Regions from separate parts of the Homo sapiens genome. Here regions 2, 3 and 4 are each linked to region 1. The links are contacts of gene promoters, found by promoter capture Hi-C in human tissues and cell types (Jung and others, 2019). All regions are on one chromosome and are shown on one strand. The core of a region is centred on a gene start or on the middle of the fragment in contact, and the rest is flanking DNA. Distances in the headings are between cores, read along the strand shown. Region 1 holds the start of SLC23A2 (solute carrier family 23 member 2). Region 2 overlaps SLC23A2 (solute carrier family 23 member 2). Region 3 has its middle 44 kb from the start of SLC23A2. Region 4 overlaps SLC23A2 (solute carrier family 23 member 2).

Region 1 (2,621 bases), core at 81-2,580:
TTATACATCTCACCAGGTTCAAACACCTTCAGGGGAGGCAGGCAACGTCACCTGCAACGGTGAAAAAGGCAGGTGTAGACAACCAGAAACGGTGAGGCCCAAACCCAACAGCATTCAAATACAAAAGCATAAAATAAAAATGCTCCAGCCACCCCAATTCCAGCCTTTTGCTTCAGAGAGGACGAAGCCGGCTGAGGGAGGTCACATGGCCAATTAGTGACAGCTCAAACCAGACTGCCTCCGGACTCCCAGTCCCATGTCCTCGCACATCCCGGGGCCTTCTCTGCGCGCAGATGACCCAATTGTCAGCAGGGACTGCATCTTCCCCCGCCCGTCTCCCAGCACTGCAAGAATAGAAGTAGCACCTACTACAAACGCTGCAGACCCAGAAAGCCCTTATGGGTGACTTTCTTCCACCTGCAGTTGCCCTCATTTACCCTTTGCCCTGACAATCGATAATTTCCCATCAGTCACGCTTAAACCCCCAGCCTGCAGGCCGACATCCTATCAGCCACCCATCCAAGGGGGGGCATCTAGGACCAAACGAAGGAGAAAATCCTGCGCCTTAAAGTAGTCACACTCGAAATGTCATTTTTTCCCCCCGAAAGGTGGCAAGGAGGGGGACTCGCGACCCCCCAGGGAACAGGCCAGAAAGGCCCCGGGGTCGGAGGAGCTGCTTCTAAAATTACTTCGCGCAGTCTTTGTAGAAGGGAAGAAAGCAAGAATGTAAAAGGCACCCTCTTGCCGCCCCTCCTGATGCCCCTGAATTCCAGGGGGCGAGACGATGCCCGTGCGCACCACCGGGGGAGGGGCGAGGGAAGCGACCCCAGGACGCGCGGGCGCAGAGCCCGGGAGGAGGCGGCGGCAGCCAGTGGGGTTCTGGGGGCGCCCCATTTGCCTCCCCGCTGCGCGGCCTGAGGGCCCGAGCGCGCTGTGGCTCCCGTGGCGGGAAGGGGTGGGTACCCCGGGGGCCCGGCCCGGCCGGCAGAACGGCAGGAGCTGAGGGCCGCCGGGCATCTTGGGCCCCGGGGCCAGGGTGGCCGGCGGGCGCGGGGTCCCGGGAGATGGGTCGGGGTGGGGGCGCGCAGGCCGCGCCGCGGGGCCGGTGGGTGACAGCGCGCGGGGGCCGTGCCAGGCCGGCCTCGTGGGCGCGGCGAGCACCTCGCGGCCCCGCCGGCAGGTGCGGCCCGCAGGCCGGGCAGGGGGCGCGGCGGCCGGGCTCTCACCTGGCTGCAGCTCGCGTGGTTCCCGTCCTGCCGCCGCGCCTCGGCGCCGCAGTGCCCGCTGCAGCCTCCGCCTCCGGTCCCCGCGACAGCCGCCTGCAAAATGGCGCCGCGGAGGGGCGGGCCGGGGGCGGGGTGCAGCGGAGCCGCCCGCCCCCGCGCCGGTCTGGGGCCCACCTCCCTCCCCGCCCCCGACCCCTGCCCTCGGGCCTCCCCCCGGGGAGGGGCTGCTCCCTGGCACCCGGCAGCGCTCCCCGGAACATCCCGGGCCTCGCACCCAGCCGTCCCCTTCCCGTTCCTTTCATTTCCCTCCCCTGCGCAGAAAGATCGCCCCCCTTCGCGACCCTTCCCACCAGTCACACCTGTTCCTGGGGACCCACCTGGCAAGCAGAGCGCTGGTCCCTGAGTGTCCTGGTCCAGGTCCCCCCTTTTTACCCCGCCTGCCACCGAGCCCTGTCATTGCTCGAGCGTGATAAGCAAGCAGTTTGTGGTGCATTGGGCTCAGTGGGTTGGATGTTTTAAAACAATTTCACCGCTTCTCCACTTAGGTAGCCAGTTTTTTTAACCTAACTGGAGAAGAAGTCCTTCTTACCTCATGCAGAGATCGTAATACAGACCAAGGCTTTTCAGACGTGAATTCTCTGGGGGTCGTGTTAGGCTAGGGGCGGGTTCACATTCAGTGGCTCTGGGGTGCAGCCCAAAAGTCTGCACTTCTAAATTGTCCCCAGGTGATGCCCCCGGGTGAGGTTCTTGGACCGCTAAGCAGAAAGGCCAAGTGTAAATCCCTGGCCCTCGGTCTTAGAGCTGGGCAGCCTCACTTTGAGGACTTCATTAAGATGCAGATGGCTGGGCCCCACCCCCAGAGTTGCTAAGGCTGGAGGTCTGGCGTGAGGCTCCAGAATCTGCATTTCTGCCAAGTTCCCAGGTGATGCTGATGCTACTGGTCTGGGGACCACACGTATTGAGCCACTGCTGAAATCTGAATACAATTTTTTAAATGTTCTAATAATTAGTACTTTCTTAACACCTTCCATCTTGAAACCGTTGTCATGGTTGCTTTACTAACTGAATGATAATGTACTAGTTCCCGGGCAACTCTTGAGAAACAGAATTGTAGACGGTGTCTGTCTGACCTCACATGGAGAGAAATTGATTTTATAATCAGAATTATTTATGTGTTTTACACAGTTTTGGAAAGTGACATCACACATATTAATGCAGTTGGGGGAGCAGCAACTAAAGGAATTTTATGAAATAGGCAAGTGTGGTCTGTGTCTTGACAATAATGTGTCTTCCCATTTATTTATCTAATAACTGCATTTTTATTTGCTTATATTTAATTTTTTAGAGACAAGGTCTCACTCTGTCACCCAGGCTGGAGTGCAACGGCACAATTAA
Region 2 (2,621 bases), core at 72-2,571, 57 kb before region 1:
TGTTCCATAAATGCTAATGAAATTTACATTTACTCCAAGTAGACGGCACTGAATAAATACTATATCAGAAATATAAATCCATGGCAAATCCATCATTTGCTCTAGACAAAAACCCACACTTCTCCAAAAGGATACGAGAGAGAGGAAGAGCCAGAATAAGAATCAGTGGCTCATGTGCTTAAGACTCACATGGGAAGCTTATTTAAAATATACACTTCTGGGCCAGGCACGGTGGATCACACCTGCAATCCCAGCACTTTGGGAGGCTGAGGCAGGCGGATCGCTTGAGCCCAGGAGTTCAAGACCAGCCTGGGCAACGTGACGAAACCCCATTTCTACCAAAAAAAAAAAACAGAAAAATTAGCCAGGCATGGTGGTATCCGCCTGTAGTCCCAGTTATTTAGGAGACTGAGGTGGGAGGATGGCTTGAGTCCAGAAGGTAAAGGTTGCAGTGAGCTGAGACTGCACGACTACACTCCAGCCCAGGCAACAGAGTCAGACTCTGTCTCAAAAAAAAAAAAAAAAAGACAGATTTCTTTCACACAAATACATGTAAGACAAAAATTTGACACTGTTTTATTTATAACAGCCCCAAACTAGAAACATCCAAAGAGCCATCAAGAGGTGGACGGGTAAGCAAATCATGGTGGGTCCATCAAAAGGCATGCTAGTTAGCAACAAACCAGAGAGCGTCTGCTGACGTGCCCGACAGCACAAGGGAGCTGCACAGACATTTCGTTAAAGCAGCCAGACACGAGACATGCAGTCTGATTCTCAAAAGACAAACCATTCTACGGGAAGCGGAGAGTGGTTACCTAGGGCAAGAATGGAGGAAAGGGCTCCCCAGGGAAAGGATGGAACCTTTGGAATGATAGAAATCTACTGTTTTGACTGTGATTCTGGTGGCTCCATTTGGATGTATATCCACTTGCTCTATGTAAACACTATCGCAATAAAATTGACTTTAGAAGACTAAAAGAATTAAAAAACCCTGTAATCCCACCAATTTTAAAAATGTCCCCTCCTCATATTCTAATCCTATAGACCTACCTTGGGGGCTTGGGAACCTGTATTTTTGTTTGTTTGTTTGTTGAGATGGAGTCTTGCTCCGTCGCCCAGGCTGGAGTGCAGTGGTGCAGTCTCAGCTCACTGCAACCTCCACCTCCCGGGTTCAAACAACTCTCTGCCTCAGCCTCCCAAGCAGCTGGGATTACAGGTGTGCCCCACCACACCCGGCTAATTTTTGTATTTTTAGTAGAGACAGGGTTTCACCATCTTGGCCAGGCTGGTCTTGAACTCCTGACCTCGTGATCCACCTGCCTTGGCCTCCCAAAGTGCTGGGATTACAGGCATGAGCCACCGCACCCGGCCAGGAACCTGTATTTTTAACAAATGCACAAATATTCTCATGCTAGAGGTCCTCAGATCACCCACACCTTGGGATAGGCAATCTTGGCTGGGAAAAAGCTATTGTCTGCACTTCTTTAAACCAATCCAGACAGGGGAAGAATATGACTAAGAAGGAGTGCCCTCTGGGATAAGGACACTCAAAACCTCAGCCTGCCAAGTGCTACTTTGGTTCTCACTAAGACACAAGAGCTTTCAGGGCCGGCTAGGTTCAATGATGAAGCACATTTCAAAAGCCAATCCATGGCTCTTTGCTTAAATCCCATTAAGGGGATTATAATCAAACTGTGGCTGCTCCATTAAGTTCTGTTAAATGCTAACATTTGACCTAAATGCTTTTAATTCAAGTCAGAAAAGACTGTTGGAACATATGCCCTCAACTTGTAGGTGTGGTGAGGGCTAGTTTTGAATGAAACGCTCTGAATTCTCAAAAAAAAAAAAAAAAAATCTTCAACTTGTATATGATCAACTTCCTTTGAATGAAATGACTTAACTGGTTACCTAATACACAGAGTCCGACTTCAGGGAGTTTGCAATTCTGATGCTGATCCTAGCTATAATTATTCCATTTAAAGCTCCAAGCAGCAACGAATGAACTTGTAAGCAGTGGTGATTATTTGATCTTGTGATGACAAGTATGCTCACAGCATGTGACTGAATTTAAAAAAAAAATAACAATCATCCTGCAGTCTTCTCCAAAACACTGCAGGAACTCTTGATCTTGTTTGTTTGTTTGTTTGTTTGTTTGTCTTTTTTGAGACACAGTCTGGCTCTGGCACCCAGGTTGGAGTACAGTCAAGCAATCGCAGCTCACTGCAACCTCCCACCTCAGCCTCCTGAGTAGCTGTGACCACAGGCATGCGCCACTATGCCCAGCAAATGTTTGTATTTTTTGTAGAGACAGGGTCTACTTGTTGCCCAGGCTGGTCTCGAACTCCTGAGCTCAAGCAATCCTCCCGCCTCAGCCTCTCAAAGTGCTGGGATCACAGGCATGAGCCACCATGCCTAGCCAGCGCTCATTTTTCAAACCGCAAGTCAGTACCTACTAGTAGGTCATGAAATTAAATTAGTGGATCTTGACCAGAATTTTTAAAACAATGGCATTTGACAGAACAAAAAACTTCAGAGCATATCTCAAAAGACAGGGGTAACCGAGAGTGTCAAGGTAAAATGCTTCATGCTGTGGGTCAGGGGAAAAGAGTCTGCAAGTCACT
Region 3 (2,621 bases), core at 53-2,552, 44 kb after region 1:
ATTACCCAACCTTGGCGCTGCATGACGAACACCTGTGGATGGTTAAAAACTGCACTGCAGGTTACTTCCCTCAGAGCCTCTGGGGTGGGACCCAGGCTTCCGTATTTTTTTTTAAGCCCCTTAGGTAATTTCATTGTGTGCACAGGGCTGAAAACTGCCTGAGGCTGCAGTCTCTCAAGTGCTAGTTCACACAGATATTTATTTATTTATTTTTTGAGACAGAGTTGCGCTCTTGTCATCCAGGCTGAAGTGCAATGGCGCAATTTTGGCTCACTGCAGTCTCCGCCTCCCAGGTTCAAGAGATTCTTCTTCCACAGCCTGCCGAATAGCTGGGATTACAGGTACGCGCCACCATGCCGGGCTAACTTTGTATTTTTAGTAGAGACGGGGTTTCACCATGTTTCACCATGTTGTCCAGGTTGCTCTCAAAATCCCGACCTCAGGTGATCCACCTACTTTGGCCTCCCAAAGTGCTGGGATTACAGGCATGAGCCACCATGCCCGGCCACACACAGATAAATTTAAACGTTCCCTACAGGTCTTTGTTGGGTCCTTTTGGAAGCAACTCCTGCCCCCGTGCCCCACAAAGGAGCATTTTCTTGTATGTGTCAGAATCATTTCTCTTTTCCCCTACCCCACTGCAAACCCCACCCAAGTTCAGAAGAAAAATACCTTCAAGAACTCTGACCAGATAGAGGAAAAGTGCATTGACTCAATCTACCTCCTTCCTCACTCCCTTCTTGGAGGAGGCCCCTTCCCAAAAGACCTTCCTGGAAAAATCTTCCTTTGGTGTCTCCAAGGAACTATGCTCTCCAGGGCACGCAACAACAGAGTAAGAATTCATCTACCACTAAAGACTGAATATAGTATGCAGTATAAAACTATTTAAAAGGGCCAGACGCGGTGGCTCATGCCTGTAATCCCAGCACTTTGGGAGGCCGAGGCGGGTGGATCACGAGGTTAGGGGTTCAAGACAAGCCTGGCCAAGATGGCAAAACCCCATCTCTACTAAAAATACAAAAATTAGCCGGGCATGGTGGCGGACACCTGTAATCCCAGCTACTCAGGAGGCTGAGACAGAGAATTGCTTGAACCCGGGAGGCAGAGGTTACGAGATCACACCACTGTATTCCAGCTTGGGCGACAGAGCAAGACTTCATCTCAAAAAAAAAAAAAAAACTTATTTAAAAGAAGGCGCCAGGCCAGGGTCGGTGGCTCACGCCTGTAAATCCCAGCACTTTGGGAGGCCAAGGTGGGGCAGATCACCTGAGGTCAGGAGTTCGAGACGAGCCTGGCCAACACGGTGAAACCCTGTCTCTACTAAAAATATAAAAATTAGCCAGATGTGGTGGTGCGTGCCTGTAATCCCAGCTACTCAGGAGGCTGAGGCAGGAGGATCACTTGAACCTGGGAGGCGGAGGTCGCAGTGAGCCGAGATCACGCCACTGCACTCCAGCCTGGGTGACACAGCAAGACTCCGTCTCATAAATAAATAAATAAGGCACCATAACAAAATACAGTTTATCCTAAACATGGTTTAATAGTTGGGAAGTTGGTCATATTATGTCTTTTTCCTAAATACATGCAGAGGTAAGAGACCTAACCCTGGGAGTGTGTTTGGAGGAATGAATGCTTTAAAATCAATCCCAGAATCGGTAAGTGTAATGCACAACAGTAACTGAATGACAGACAAAAACCACATGATCATCTTAGTCAATGCACAAAAAGCTTTTGAAAAAGTTCAACACGCTTTCATGATTAAAAAAAAAATGCAGCAAACTAGAAATAGAAGAAAACTACCACAATATGATAGCCATATATGAAAACCCCATAGTTAAATCATACTCAATGATGCAAGACAAACTTTTTCCTCGAAGATCAGGAACAAGACAAGAATGCCCACTTTCACCACTTCCATACCACGTAGTCTTGGAATTTCTAGATAGAGCAATTAGGCAAAAAGGAAGAAAAGGAAAGAAAAGAAAAAAGAAAAGGAAAAGGAGGGAATAGAAAGAAAAGAAGAAAGAAAGAAAATGCATCCAAATTGGAAAGGAAGAAGGAAAATTATTATTCATAGATTATATGATCTTAGAAAACCCTAAAGATTCCACAAAAAACCCTTTGGAACTACTAAACAAATTTGGCAAAGCAGCAGGACACAAAAGCAATACATGAAAATCAGTTGTGTTACTATATACTAACAAAGAACAATCTGAAAATGAAATTAAGAAAATAATTCTATTTATAATAGCATAAAAAGAATACAGCTGGGTGCGGTGTCTCACGCCTGTAATCCCAGCATTTTGGGAGGCTGAGGCAGGCAGATCACATGAGGTTGGGAGTTCGAGGCCAGCCTGACCAACATGGAGAAACCCCTTCTCTACTAAAAATACAGAATTAGCTGGGCATGGTGGTACATGCCTGTAATCCCAGTTACTCGGGAGGCTGAAGCAGGAGAATCGCTTGAACCCCATAGGTGGAGGTTGTGGTAAGCTGAGATCGTGCCATTGCACTCCAGCCTGGGCAACAAGAGCGAAACTCCATCTCTAAAAAAAAAAAAAGGAATAAAATAGTCATTGAAAGACTTGTGCAATGAAAACCACAAAACATTGCTGAAAGCA
Region 4 (2,621 bases), core at 88-2,587, 37 kb before region 1:
TCACACCTGTAATCCCAGCACTTTGGGAGGTCGAGGCAATGGATCACCTGAGGTCAGGAGTTCGAGATCAGCCTTGCCAACATGGTAAAACCCCATCTCTACTAAAAATACAAAATTAGCCGGGTGTGGTGGCATGCACCTGTAATCCCAGCTACTCAGGGGGCTGAGGCAGGAGAATCGCTTAGAACCAGGGAGGCGGAGGTTGCAAGTGAGCCAAGATAACGCCACTGCACTCCAGCCTGGGTGACAGAGCAAGACTATCTCAAAAAAAGTTGCCAGATGATGGCAAAGAGGAAAAAGGCTTCAAAACTAACAGTGGTAGTTGAATTAAGGCTGGAGGACACAGCCTGCTATTCCCTCTACCTGGAAATACTGCAACACCTGGAGAATGTAAATATCAATTCCTCAGCAAATCCTTTCCACATCTCCCAAAATCCAAACCACTCACTTCACTCTTTGCTATTCTCCCAAAGCAAGGAGCACAATTCATGCCAAATGTCCTTCGTTATCCAAAGTTATGCTTTTCTCAAGTTCATGAAGCCAACCAGGGATCCACGTTTTCTGGGTCTATCCAGTTCCTAAATTGTGATCAGCAGAAAATAAGCGAAGGGTATATACCTAAAGATGTATCCAGCAAGCCACCAAGTCAGGAAAGCAGGTGCTCTGGCATGCTGGCTTCAGGACCCCTTAGTCACAGCCACTTAAAAGTAGTCTGCATGGCTATAAGAATCCCTAAGGCTGCCATAACTCCTTTAATATGATTCTCTGTGTTGCCAATAGGAATATGACCATATGTAAGCTTTCTTATTAAAAAAAAAAAATGTAAAAAATCTGACCAGGCACGGTGGCTCACGCCTATAATTCCAGCAGTTTGGGAGGCCAAGATGGGTGGATCACTTGAGGCCAGGAGTTCAAGACCAGCCTGCCCAACATGGTGAAAACTCGTCTCTACTAAAAATATAAAAATTAGCCAGGCATGATGGCACACACCTGTAGTCCCAGCTACTCCTGAGGCTGAGGCACCAGAATCACTTGAACCCAGAAGGCGGAGGTTGCAGTGAGCTGAGATCGTGCCACTGCACTCCAGCCTGGGTGACATAGTGAGACTCTGTCTCAAAAAAAGCAAAAAATCAAAAAGGCAGAAATAAAATAAAATGTACCATTTATAATTTACACAACAAATTGTAATTGTAAATTTAGTAAATAATTTTTAACATCCCGTTAACATGCAAGCACTTTGGATATACTGCTAGTGGGAGTAATAATTGCCATTAACTTATTTTTTTTTTTTTGAGATAGGGTCTCACTCTGTCGCCGAAGCTGGAGTGCAGTGGCACAATCATGACTCACTGCAGCCTTGACCTTCCTGGGCTCAGGTGATCCTCCCACCTCAGCCTCCCAAGTAGCTGGGATTGTAGGCACATACTAATTTTTCTATTTTTGGTAGAGATGGGGTCTCCCCACGTTGCCCTGGCTGGTCTTGAACTCCTGGGCTCAAGCAATCCGCCCACATCAGCCTCCCAAAGTGCTGGGATTATAGGCGTGAACCACTGCACCCAGACATAACATTTTTAGATGGTAATTTAACATCACCAATCAAAGGCTCTAAAAATACACATAGCCTTTGACCTAACAATTTTACTCTTAAGGAATTTATCCTAGCAAAATAATTAAAACAGGCTTAAATTTTTCATTTTGTGAGTGTTCATTAAAATAATGCTTAAGAGTAATCCAAAACCGGAGGGGAAAATATTAATGCCTAAAATAGAGGACTGGTTGGTACAATTGTGGGCACATTCTTATATGAGCATATTACAGAGATTAAAACATGGGTGACTGACGTGGCAACGTAAGGAGTGCATTATTAAGCTGAGAAAAAGACAGGCTTACAAAACAAACCTGATAATCCCATTTCAGTGTGTGCACACATGCAGAAAATGAAGGGACACCAAAAAATTAGCCAGGTGTGGTAGCACACTCCTGCAGTCCCAGCTACTCAGGAGGCTGAGGCAGGAGGATCCCCTGCACCCGGGAGGTAGAGTTGCAGTGAGATCGCACCACTGCATCCCAGCCTGGGTGATGAGAGCAAGACTCTGTCTCAAAAAAAAAAAAAAGAAGAAAAGAAAAAAAGGAAGGAAGAGAAGAGTAGAAGAGAAGGGAAAAGAAGAAAAAAAAAAAGAAAGGAAAATGGAGGAAAACACCAAAATAGTACATGATTATCTCCAGATGATGGGATTATATGTGGTTTTTTTTCCCCTTATTTTTCTACAGTGTACATATGTCACTTTCATAATTCTTAAAAGCTTGAGCCATTATCTAAGGACAACACTGAAATAAATATACAGGTAAGACAAACTAGAAGAGAAATTCTGGCAGTCAACACCAGTGCTGAGAAAAAACACCCTATTGATATAGTCAGTGTGCTCCCGGAGAGAGCGCTGGGAGGGCTAGAGTTTCCTGGTAACCAGGAGCCTAAATTTATCATTCCTAAGGGCTTGCTGATGGCACCTGAGTAACTTAGGAAACCAAAGGTGTGGTCAAAAGGTAAGCGCTCTTCATACTCGGTAAACCTACTGTGTTCAGGGGTTCCTGATTTTCCTTAAATCCTTTTTATTCTTGGA

Evidence for each region. The method cuts DNA at HindIII sites, captures the fragments that hold promoters and counts their contacts. A contact is called where the count stands out against the background at its distance.
Region 2: a contact is called between a fragment that was not itself captured here and the fragment with the promoter of SLC23A2 in region 1, in 1 of the 25 tissues and cell types used here (spleen).
Region 3: a contact is called between a fragment that was not itself captured here and the fragment with the promoter of SLC23A2 in region 1, in 1 of the 25 tissues and cell types used here (spleen).
Region 4: a contact is called between a fragment that was not itself captured here and the fragment with the promoter of SLC23A2 in region 1, in 2 of the 25 tissues and cell types used here (adrenal gland and pancreas).

The regions. Positions count from the first base shown.
Region 1 is chr20:5,000,180-5,002,800 of GRCh38, forward strand. It overlaps SLC23A2 (solute carrier family 23 member 2), which reads right to left and starts at 1,331. Exons shown (of 17, transcript NM_005116.6): 1 at 1,227-1,331. RefSeq lists silencers at 847-1,006, 1,197-1,436, a promoter at 1,220-1,418 and an enhancer at 1,727-1,876. The HindIII fragment of the contact is 14,848 bases long and covers 645-2,621 here.
Region 2 is chr20:4,943,166-4,945,786 of GRCh38, forward strand. The region is part of intron 2 of SLC23A2 (solute carrier family 23 member 2); the gene reads right to left. Among named protein-coding and RNA genes, the nearest start is that of SLC23A2, 57 kb to the right of the region's middle. The HindIII fragment of the contact is 3,038 bases long and covers 1-2,621 here.
Region 3 is chr20:5,044,241-5,046,861 of GRCh38, forward strand. No RefSeq gene overlaps it. Among named protein-coding and RNA genes, the nearest start is that of SLC23A2, 44 kb to the left of the region's middle. RefSeq lists a silencer at 999-1,218. The HindIII fragment of the contact is 5,043 bases long and covers 1-2,621 here.
Region 4 is chr20:4,962,733-4,965,353 of GRCh38, forward strand. The region is part of intron 2 of SLC23A2 (solute carrier family 23 member 2); the gene reads right to left. Among named protein-coding and RNA genes, the nearest start is that of SLC23A2, 37 kb to the right of the region's middle. The HindIII fragment of the contact is 3,149 bases long and covers 1-2,621 here.